4 separate regions of the Homo sapiens genome follow, and all the other regions are linked to region 1. Evidence: promoter capture Hi-C in 16 types of primary human blood cells and fetal thymus (Javierre and others, 2016). All regions are on one chromosome and are shown on one strand. Each heading gives the region's core, a stretch centred on a gene start or on the middle of the fragment in contact. The rest is flanking DNA. Distances are from core to core; before and after follow the strand shown.

Evidence for each region. The method cuts DNA at HindIII sites, captures the fragments that hold promoters and counts their contacts. A CHiCAGO score of 5 or more calls a contact.
Region 2: a contact is called between a fragment that was not itself captured here and the fragment with the promoter of PAWR in region 1, in 1 of 17 cell types (endothelial precursors). The highest score is 6.0, in endothelial precursors.
Region 3: a fragment that was not itself captured here is called in contact with the fragment with the promoter of PAWR in region 1 in 2 of 17 cell types (megakaryocytes and endothelial precursors); the score reaches 12.5 in megakaryocytes.
Region 4: a fragment that was not itself captured here is called in contact with the fragment with the promoter of PAWR in region 1 in 1 of 17 cell types (endothelial precursors); the score reaches 7.3 in endothelial precursors.

The regions. Positions count from the first base shown.
Region 1 is chr12:79,689,661-79,692,429 of GRCh38, forward strand. PAWR (pro-apoptotic WT1 regulator) reads right to left here and starts at 1,304. Exons shown (of 7, transcript NM_002583.4): 1 at 1,212-1,304; 2 at 69-731. The coding sequence starts at 584. It overlaps PPP1R12A-AS2 (PPP1R12A antisense RNA 2), which reads left to right and starts at 372. Exons shown (of 7, transcript NR_187531.1): 1 at 372-736. RefSeq lists silencers at 12-531, 1,302-1,601. The HindIII fragment of the contact is 6,027 bases long and covers 1-2,646 here.
Region 2 is chr12:79,423,124-79,425,823 of GRCh38, forward strand. The region is part of intron 9 of SYT1 (synaptotagmin 1); the gene reads left to right. Among named protein-coding and RNA genes, the nearest start is that of MIR1252, 5.2 kb to the left of the region's middle. The HindIII fragment of the contact is 8,979 bases long and covers 1-2,700 here.
Region 3 is chr12:80,181,813-80,184,512 of GRCh38, forward strand. The region is part of intron 1 of OTOGL (otogelin like); the gene reads left to right. Among named protein-coding and RNA genes, the nearest start is that of OTOGL, 84 kb to the left of the region's middle. The HindIII fragment of the contact is 8,486 bases long and covers 1-2,700 here.
Region 4 is chr12:79,402,056-79,404,841 of GRCh38, forward strand. The region is part of intron 9 of SYT1 (synaptotagmin 1); the gene reads left to right. Among named protein-coding and RNA genes, the nearest start is that of MIR1252, 16 kb to the right of the region's middle. The HindIII fragment of the contact is 2,281 bases long and covers 304-2,584 here.

The DNA.
Region 1 (2,769 bases), core at 54-2,553:
AGGAGGAAGACACCGGGAGGCAGCTGCCCGCCCCGGCCCGGTCCGGCTGCGGCCCCCGCCCGGCTCACCTCTGCGGCAGGGATGTTGACCACGCCGGTGGAGCGCCGCTTCTCCCGCAGCTTCCTCTTCTCGATCTGCCCCTTGCCTTTCCTGGCACTGGGGCCCGAGCTCTTGCCCTTCTCTGGGACGCCGTCCGGCTCCTCCTCGTCACGCTGGGGCGGCGGTGCAGCCGAGGCAGAGGCGGCTGGGGGCTCGTCCTCCGACCGCCGCGGGCCGGGGGCCGCCCGCGTCAGCATGGCGGAGCCGACCGCGCAGTTCACGCCCCCGGGACCGGGGACGGCAGGTGCGGCCGGCGCGCCGCCCGGGAGGTTGTTGTTGAGCTCGTTGGCAGCGGCGGCCGCCGGGGTGCCCAGAGCCCCCGCGGGGGGCTTCCCAGCGGCGTCGCTGCTGCCCCCTCCCGGGGGGGCCGGGCCCGGGGGGTTCTGCTTGGCGCGCATCTTCTCGCGTTTCGCCTTCCACTCCTCCAGGAAGTCTGTGGTGCTGCCGCCGAGGCCGCTGCTGGTCCGGTAGCCACCGGTCGCCATATTCCCAAAGGGGCCGGTCGGGCTCTCACCTCAGGCCGCCCACCAGGGCTCCGGCCGCTGCCTCCTCTTCCTTCCTGCGGCCCCGAGGATGCCAGGAGACGACCTCCAGGAGAGGGACGGCCGCCGCTCCCACAGCAGCCGGCGGGGCTGAGGTGAAAGACAAAAGGGGGCGGGTAAGGGAAGCGTAAGATCCCCGCCCGACCCAAGGGTCTGCCCCCGGGCTGCGCCCCTTGGAGTCCTCGAGCGCGCCCACCAGTCACTACCGGCCAGCAGCCGCCGGGTCCCCACCCTGCAAAGTTTCTCCCACGCACCTACAGTACGGACCCCGACGATCGCCGCCCCTAGAAGGGAGGAGAGAGGACTGACCCCACCCCCAAGTCGGCCCGCCCGCCCCATCCCCACCAAGGTCCGCGCCGGCGGCGGTCGAGATACTAGGGCTAGACCCGCCACCTGTCGGCTCGTCGTATCGCCTGCTCCGCGCTCTAGCCACCGCCGGTCCGAGGTCCCCGTCAGCTACAACCCCACTCCCAAGGCGAGGCGCGGAGCTCCTAGCCGGTTCGCAGAGGAGGCGGGGACCCAGCTGTCCCGCCGAGCGTGGAAAGGACCGGGTGTGAGCGAGCGCCTTACCTTGGAGGAGCTTGTAGGGGACGAGGCGTAGGGCTGGGATCCGGCTCCCAGGTGTGCCGAAGCTGGCGCGCGCTCTTCCGCCGCGCGGAAAGTGCCGCGGCAAACTCGCGGTGCGGAGCTCCAGGCAATCCCAGGACAGGAGGGAGGGAGAAGAAGGAGGGAGGGAGGGAGGGAGGGAGCCAGGGGCGGGAAGGGAGCCGAGCGGCGCCGAAGCACGAGCGGAAAAGGCCGAGGCGGCGCGCGAGGGGCGCGGCGCGCGGTGGGAAGGGTCGTGGCCGCTGACGCCCCGCCCCCGGCGCTCAGGTGCGCGGCGTCGCGTCCGGCCCGCCGCTGCAGCCTGCCCTGCGCCAGCCGTCCTCTGCCCCGCTCCCGCCGCAGACCACAGCGCGCCCGCCGCGCTCCGCCCGCGGCCTGCGAGTTAGACGGCACATTCCTGGGCTAGCAGCTTCGCGGCGTCCGGCCTCCCGGCGCCTCCGACTCCGGGGCGGGAACGGCACTCCACGCCCTTCTTGCTTGTCTTCTCCGCCTCTCTCTTCTCCCACCACTCTTCCTTTTAAGTACAAGACCGTATTATTTGAGAGAAAGTCTCGAACGCTGCTGGCTAAGGGGAAAAGTGCGATAACTTGTGATGATTCAGGGAATGACTAGACAGGATGGGAAAATACCCACGTGTCTCTTTTCCTAGTCGCTGCTCCCTTTTCAGATGTACTAGGGCAGCGGGCAGGAGAATAGAAAGACCTGAGACAAACCCAGCACCCTCCTTCTAAGAAAACTGCGGTGCCCTGGTGAAAAGGGTTGGCTAAGAGGAAGGACTTACTAGTATCTTAGGGTTGCGGGAGAAAAAACTCAGTTCGACAGTTTATTGTATTGGCGATTCCAGTCTTGGAGTTTTCCCCTTAACCCTGTCTCTGCCTCTCCTCTTTACAGAGAATGAATTTAGCAGCAAAGCTCCCTACCAAAGTACTAACGCTGCACTGATGCTAATTTGAGATGAGCTGGGGCAGTGATTGTCTCTATTTTTTCATTATTAACATGCCAGAGGCTTATCCTCTGATGCAAGTCATCTGAAATTTCTGGATCAGAGCGGGGTGGGCTGTCACTGACGCACCTAAGACTGACCTTTCTATATCCAAGTAATGTCAGGGCACATCATTGTGGGAGGCTACAAATGCCAGGTCTCCATTTTGTAAAAAAGTAGGAGAGCCCTAAGTCACGCTCTTACCTAACATAAACCTTTCTTCCTACTTAATATTCCTGTTTTGCCCAGGTAGCACATGATGAGTGAGCAATCAGTGTTTGCCTGCCACAGAACTGGGAACAGAAGAAAGTGATTCACATGCTCTATATTTCTCAGGGAAAGACAGTTTTGGTCTTTGGTCTGGCTGTTGTGGGAAACGTATGGCGAGAGCTCTGGAAAAATCCTTAGAAAATTAAAAGCTTTTGTTGGGAATAGGTCTAAAAGGCTGAGCGGCTGTTTACCTAAGCTAGTACCAACCCCAGTGTGCCACCTGAAGTTTCTCAATTACATATTCATTAGTTTGTTTTCTGAGTTTTAAGG
Region 2 (2,700 bases), core at 43-2,542, 270 kb before region 1:
CACTGTACCACTCCAAGATCTGTTCTTTTGTGAGCCAGCATTGTATGTGTGTGTGTCTGTGCGCCCACACATGTGTGCACACGTGCATGCATGCTTTGTTTTGTTTTAATGTCCATATTATTAGGTTACAGTCTTTTCCTTATTTCATTGCTGACTTATTACTAGAAAGGAGGGAGCTAGTGGTTTTCATTGTTGGTATCCCTTGTTTTTAGTTCTGAGAGAAAGAGAAAGAGAGAGACTCTATAATCTGCTTTCATTCTATCACCTGAGCCTGGAGGCCTCAACTAGTTCTTTTAACTCTAATTAAGCCTTAGAGTCTGCAAGTATAAGACAGCTGTGAAGTAGCTCTGCCCTCAGAATTTTGTAAGTACTTTAAGACATAGACAAACACACATACACACAACAAAACAAAACAAAAACATAAAGCTGAGGTGGTTTGGTTGGGTTCCTTGCCAGCTTAGCCTCTTACTCTTGGCTAAAAAACATTTCAAGGACTTAAACTGTGGAATAGTTCTAAGAAATTGCTTAGTCTTATCCCTGGACACTGCAAAATGGATTGCCTCAGATCTAAGAAACCCATTTATCAGAAAAATTCTTCAATTTCATGATATGTTATGGTCGAGATGTTATTGCACAATCCCACAGAAATCTAGTCCCTCTCCTAAATATGCCGAACACCTATACAGATGGAGGCAAGCAGAGAGAGGAAGGTGAGAGTGAACACTTGTTCCTGAAATCTCCCAAGATACCGGCTCTGGGTTAGCATTAGAAGGCCTAAGCACCTGGATCTATTAACCTAAATAGAAAAAAGAAATAACCAAATACTTGTTGAAATAACCAACAAGTATTTGGTTATTTCTTTTTTCTATTTAGGTTAATAGATGGAGCATTACCTAAAAATGAGATGAAGCATCACCTACAAATGTCCCTCAAACAAGTCATACTTAGTTCAGATTATAAAGAGAGTATTTGATAAATGCTGTACGTATAAGGGAATTCGAATGGCACTAGCTTACAGCTTCTTGTGTCACTACCATGCCTCTAATGCAATTTCCCCCATCTAGAAATGTAACCCTCAGCCAGTTGCCTTGAAAGCTGGTTACCGTGGAGATGATTATCAGTATTATGATGACCTATTTAGAAGAATTTCTGCATCACCAGAAAACAAATAACCACAGAGAGAGCCTTTCAAATGAATCATGCTCTTTCTCTGAAAGTGCCTTTACAAACAAATGCCATGGATGTATTGTGTTTGTGTGCTGTGTGTGGATTTGTTCATTATTTGTATTTGCAAAGGTTTTAGTGAAATTCCAGTTGTCTTTAGGCATGCCAAGAGTAGAGAGGGTAGTACAAACAACAGGCATAAGCATATAGACATCTGTCCTCTTCCTACAATTTGAAATGCATGGCCATGGCTGTATTGATTTCTCAGCAATGTTAACATTTCTTTCATTTGTACAGTTTTTCTTGCTCATCCACTGCTTTTTGAGGCTTTTTAAGGACTGCTGGAATGTGGTTGGCAGGTGGTTGGTAAAGACTGGTTTTTACAAACTGATTGGCCATTAATAGTTCCTAAACACACTATGACTACTTGATGACTATTTTGATTTTCTCAAAATTATGTCATGAAATATTCTCTTAACTTCTGTTTGGTCTCCCATTTTTCTATAAAATAGTTTTGTGTGTGATTGTATGCAGACCTAGTGTTTTGTTTTTTTTTTAAGTTTTTAAATTTGTTATCCATTAATCATTGCCCTGCTCCTTATAGGAAAGACTGATTTTCAGCTGCTGCCCTTTTTGGTTTTGTTTTGCTTTTGATTTTTCTTCTTCTTTTTTTTTTTTTTTTTTTGAGACATTTAATTTGCACTTGTAAAAATTTCAGTGATAAAAATTAAACCTTTATTATGTTCATAGAAGCAGCAAATAACAATATAAGCCAAATGTTACCCCAAAGAGGTCAAACAGATCTAATATTTTCCTTCCAGTCTATGAAGGTCGTGTATTATGGCATTTTTATATTTGTTCTTATTGTATTTTCAGGCACACTCCTTTTTCTACTCTCATCCTTCCACCCACTGTCACTTCTTCTAAGGTAATGGCAGGAATGTTCATATTTTCTGCTGTTATTTCATATCATCTAGCAAAGTGCTGGATAATCGATGTTTAATAAACCTGACCCCTCATATAACCTCAAAAGTTTCAAAAGTTCTTTAACCAGATAAACTCCATTTTTGTCTGTTCATGTTCACAATGGCCTTCCAGTCTAGGAATCTCCATTTTTTAAACCATGTACAGGCAGTCTGTTTTCCACAGAACATTTTGGGTTTAAGTCAATTAACTAATTTTGGCCCCATTTTCAATTTCTATACCATAGACTTGTCCTTATGCCCAAAATCACATTGCTCTGAACTGAGGGCAAATATCAAATTCATATTAATCACCTCACTAATATTCTTAGGCTGGTCTGAATGCTATGTAAATCCCAATAAAAATCTTAGTGTGAAAAAATTTTCTTCAACTAAATATAACTCCTTCTCTTTCAATATTTTTTAGAAGTACATTGACATTTTAATTAACAAGTTCTTACTTAAATTTTAACTCCAAAGAGTCTAGCACAATATATTTAAGTAGTCAACTACACAGTCAGTGTAAAATGTTGACTTCTGTCCATCTAACACAGTTGTATAGGAACGGTTTTAC
Region 3 (2,700 bases), core at 185-2,684, 490 kb after region 1:
AGGTTCTCTTTCTCCTGAGCATTCTATAGAATTAGGGCCAATGCCTGATTGAGACATATACTTTACATAGGCTGGGCATGGTGGCTTACATCTGTAATCCTAGCACTTTGGGAGGCTGAGGCAGGAGCATTGCTTGAGTCCGGGAGGTAAAGACCAGTCTAGGCAACATAGTGAAACATTGCCTCTACAAAAAGATAAAAAACAAGTAGCCAGGTGTGGTGGCATAGACCTGTAGTCCCAGCTACTCAGGAGGTTGCTTGAGCCCAGAGGTTGAGACTACAGTGAGCCATGATCACGCCACTGCACTCCAGTCTGGGCAACAGAGTGAAACCTTGTCTCAAAAGCAATTTTTAAAAAGGGGGTAAAAAAATTAAAGAGACGTATACTTTAAATGAGCTCCAATCACATATTCTTGCCCCTAAATGTTATCAAAACTTCCTACTCATGTCAGTGAAATCTATAACAGAGGCTTGGTACGACTCAGCAAATGCAGCAGAAAGCATCACAGCTCAAAGTGAAAACTTGCCAGCATGCTAGACAGCAGGCAATAGAGCCAGTTAAATCCAACTGACCCAATAAGTTTCCTTTAAAATATCTATACCAATTTGCATCACCATAGGAAATGAAAAGTTAAATAGTGCATGATTATACTAAACCAAGGAGCTCCTGGCTTACTATAAGAGATGAATTAAAAAAATAATTGTAATGCAGTGTGATCAATTGACATAGAGGTTGGTTGAAGGCATAAATGAGAATAGGTGGCTTTTCCAGGGTAGAGAAGGAGGTAGCAGAGAGCCTTCAAAGAAAGAAACACTTGTGCTGGTCTAGAAGGAAGATTATGAATTTTTCAGATAGAATGCAGTAGGGATGGAGTGGATTGGAATCAATAGCTGAGAGAATTGCACATGTGAAATATGTGCAATGATACATTTGAGTAATGTAAGAAGCTCAGGATGGCTGAAGCATAGGGAGTACACATCAGCAGGTAGGCTGAAGCAGATATGTAGATGTTTGTACTTTATTGAAGGAAAACCACAATAAAGTTTGCACTTGGAAAGATCACCACGGCAGAAATGCATGAATAGCTTAGAGAGAAAGTCTAGAATCAGGGAAACCCAAGGCTGCTGATAGCCCATGTGGAACTTTTGTACAAATTAGAAAAGAGTACCCTCTCTCAAGTTACTTTTTACTTCATTTTTTGGAAAATGTTTATATCAATAATTACCTTACAACAGACATTTTACTGAAAAGTGAGAAAATTTTTATAAAAATATATAATGCTTACAATACAATTGGTGCCTTCATCAACAGTCAAGTGTAGGGACTGTGCAGAGCACACACTGCATAAACATGTATCACTGAACTGTGGAGACCAACTAGGTAATTACTGCAATAGCTTAGATTGGAGATGACAGTCCTACTGAGGTAGTATGTTCTCTCTCTCACTCCCTTTCTCTCTCTCTCAGCAAATAGCAGCAATAATTCAAGGGCTTGTGATTTATGTTTCCTCAGATTTGAAACAATAGATATAAGATTTGAAGTAGTAGGACTCTTAAGATGACTCCAAGTTCTTTTGGCTTTTTGTTTCTTTTGGTCTTGAGAAATCAGGTGGATAATTACGTCTATCACCTACTAAAATGGATAATAGAGATAGAATCAGGATGTTTTTGGGAGGAGTATATTAGGAAATGATGAGTTCAATTTAGTTTCTGACATGCTAAGTTTGTAGTCTTTGTGGACTTACCTATAGGCAATTAAATGTGTTGATCTGGAGCTCAAGAAAGAGAATGGGCCAAAGCCATAGACTTCATAGTCACCAACACATTGGTAGTTGTAAAAGACACAGGAATGTGTAAGATTCCATGAGCTTTAGAGCATCAAGATTGATGCTTGGCACCATCCTACCAAATAGGTTAGGATAGGCCGAGGGATGAATGAGGTTAGGGCTGCAGGTTGGAGGTCTTCAGCTGGCTGTTGGGAGGCATTAGGGCAGATGGAGATGAACAAATAGGACCCTTGCTCCATAGGAGTGTTTCTCAAATTGTAGTCATTGGACAAGTGGCATCGTGATTCCCTAGGGACATTTCATTAATAGTATATATTCCTGGCTACTAGTGCTGTTGAATTATAATATCTGGATGTGGGACTCTTTTATAGAAACTCTTTATGGGTGATTATTATGTATATTAGAGTGTTCTCTCTTCAAATAGGTCCCTTTTTCCCATAGTTATGGTACTTGAGACTAGATCAATTTGCTTAGTAAGCAAAACTGTAGTTTATGTTTAAACTAGGAATGGAAAATATGTAGCATGTGGCCTTGCATTTCCGTTTCCTATACTAACGGCAAGCCCTTTTCTGTTCAACCCAGTCATGACCTTAAACTATTTCTCAATGCTCTGCTTCAGGCAGATTCTACTAAGCAATGAGTTATCAGGCTAGATGAAACACATTAGCCACACCAGGCTTAACTTCTGGCTATATAAGAAGACAAGACACTTTTAGTGTTAACACATCACTTTAATTTTTTCCTTTTCCACTATAGTTAAGTGGCAGAATAATATATATCTTAATATTTTTCATTCTAGCTAATGTAAAGGAGTTGATAGTAAAAGACGTATTTTTTTCTCTCCCATACTGAGAAGGTTTTACGTCTTAGAGATCTGGGTTTCATTAGCCTCATTGACAATTTAATAGACAAAA
Region 4 (2,786 bases), core at 194-2,693, 290 kb before region 1:
CATTGTTGGCCTAGTGAGTGTTTTAGCACTTTCAGAATCTCAGAGCCCTTCACAGATCCTCTGACAGGAGTTGACCCTTTGGCTTGAGTCAGTCTACACTCCACCCATCGCAAGCTCAGATAGTAGAAATTTCTCCCGTAAAAAGTTTCCATAATGCTACACGCAAACCTCTAGGGAACAGTAGCTCCTCTCTTGCCTGGAAGTGCAGGCTACTTTCTGAAGCTGCCATGTCCCACGTGGCCAGTAAGTGCTGCCATGTAAACTTGTGCAATTTCCCAGTCTCAATACAAAATCAAAGCTTCAAGCTTTGGGAGATAAAATCTGGGTTTCAAGTTTGATAAAATATTTTTCACAGTAGTTATCTAGGATTGATCAATTCTGAAGGCTCTAATTTCTGTTCTTCAAGCTAATTTAACACAAGGCAGCCTGAACAATACCACTCTTGGATGGGCAGCCTAAGAAACAGATTTTCGCAGGTGTTTCCTCTGTGCTGCAAACCTAAATAGCCCCCTACATTCAATCACATCGATGCCAGAGGCAGGAAAAAAACTGCAACAAAAGAAGAAAAGAGAGCAAGCTCAGTAAAGCTGAGGACTGCTCAAGAGCCGTTTTGATGTAGAGATCTCTGTGAAAGCTCATTAAATCCTCAGTGTGTGAGGCAGGGCTTAGGGAAAAATAGAAATAGGGATAATAAGACACCATATCCATCCATACTGACATATTTGCAAAGCATTCATTAGTTAAAATCCTCCAAGGAAACTCCATGTGACTCCTCAGCATATTAAGGACCTGAATCAGCTCTTCTGGTTAAACCACAGTCCAGATTAACAGTTACATACTGGAGAGATACAGTTAGTTTTTGTTTTGTTTTATTTTTCATAATACCACGAACAAACCTATTGCAAAAGCAATTCAAAGCATGGTTCCCATAATGAAGAACCAGTTGGGTCCTCTTCAGGAGGAAAGATAGCCCCATATACCATGAATATCTAATACATCTGAATAAATGATAATAAGTCATTAGATGACGGGTGTATATGAGAAAAGCCAAACTTACTAAGTTAGGTCCCCACTGCTTTTATTTTCTGGAAGACATTCATAAGGAAAGATGTATCTTCATGCTTCAGCCAAAACCCAGATGGGAATAAGACCTTCTATTATACAGGATTCCCCAGAGAAACAGAACCAATAGTGAGGGGGTCAGGGGAAGAGGCAGTTGGGAGAGAGGGAGAAAGAGAGAGAGGCTTTATCTTAAGGAACTGGCTCATTCAATTTTAGAGTTTGGCAAGTCCAAAATTTGCAGAGTAGCCCAGTAGACTGGAGACCCAGGAAATACTTGATGTTCAGTCCAAAGGCACTCTGCTGGCAAAATTCCCTCTTCTTCAGGGGAGGTCTTTTTTCTCTTAAGGCTTCTAACTGATTGGATAAAGCCCACCTAGTGACCTCATTGTAATTTAATTACTTCTTTAAAGACATTGTCTCCAAATACAATCTCATTCTGGGGTGCTAAGGGTTACAACTTCAACATATGAATTTAAGGGGACACAATTTCACCCATAAAATACCTCAGTGGGTTTTATTATGATCTAGATATTAGAAAGAGAGAGAGAGACAGAGACAGAGACATGGGGAGGTTGATAAATAGCAGATGTATTTCTCAAAGCAGTGATTCTCAAAGTATAGGCCCAGGCCCAGAAGTATCAGTATCATGTGAGAATTGGTTAGAAATGCAAATTCTCAGCCCCTACCCCAAATCTGCTGAGTCTGTAAGTGGGGCCCAGGAATTTGTGAATAAACCTTCCTTCCTGGTGGTTCCAATGAAGGCTAAAGTTTGAAAACAACTCTCTTAGAAGTTGCTTTATTAAAAGAATGACGCCACCTAAGAAGTTTTCCAACAAACATGGGTGTAAATATCGTTTAATCTGTGTGTTTTCATTAAATATATCAAGATAAGTCATATTTTATAAGTGAGCCTTGGATCTATTTTACTCTTATAAATTGAAAACAAAGCCAGAGCTCCAAGGATAAGCACCACAACACTGCAAAGAAACTTGGCCTCTGAGTACAGATTTCACAGGGTAAAAGCAAAACTGTGAGTACCCAATAAAGCTAATATATCAAATACCAGAGCAGTCTAATTGCTGTCTGTCTGGTTGGAAGCCTCCATTACCTTATGTAATTCCCATGAATGGCAGACTAAATTATAATGGTGGTACTTAATAAAATTCATTCTACCCTCTTCTTAAAAATGAAAAACTATAAATAGAACTACTGAGTGGCCACTTTTGAGCAAGAATGTAATTTATATTATGTCCCAAAACACCTTCCACACCCTCACAAAAGTAGCATTTGCAAATACACCAGCATTAAACAAGCCTCTCCCCCATGTTCTTTGAGAAACTACAGTACACAGGAGCAAGAAGTTTTAATTCACCTGTGAGTTATTTCCAAGTCTTGCTGGATGGTCAGATCTGTGAACAGTCATACACACAACCAACTTATCTGGAGAAGTCAGCTTCATCCGAGCATATATTCTACTTAGTGGTCAAGTACATGTAACTAAAGGTAAAGCCTACATCCAGGAAGCTTACGTGACTTGCGACTTGCGTAGCGTAGGTTTCAGCACATAAGATGCTAGATCAGATTGCATAATGCAACGAGAGCTAACACTCATAATTACTTATGTAAATTATATGGCAAGAATTTCCCAGGCCTTTAGGGAAAAAATGTTTATTTGCGGAGCCTAATTTTTTATATCAGCTATCACGAAAAAGATTGTCAAGGAG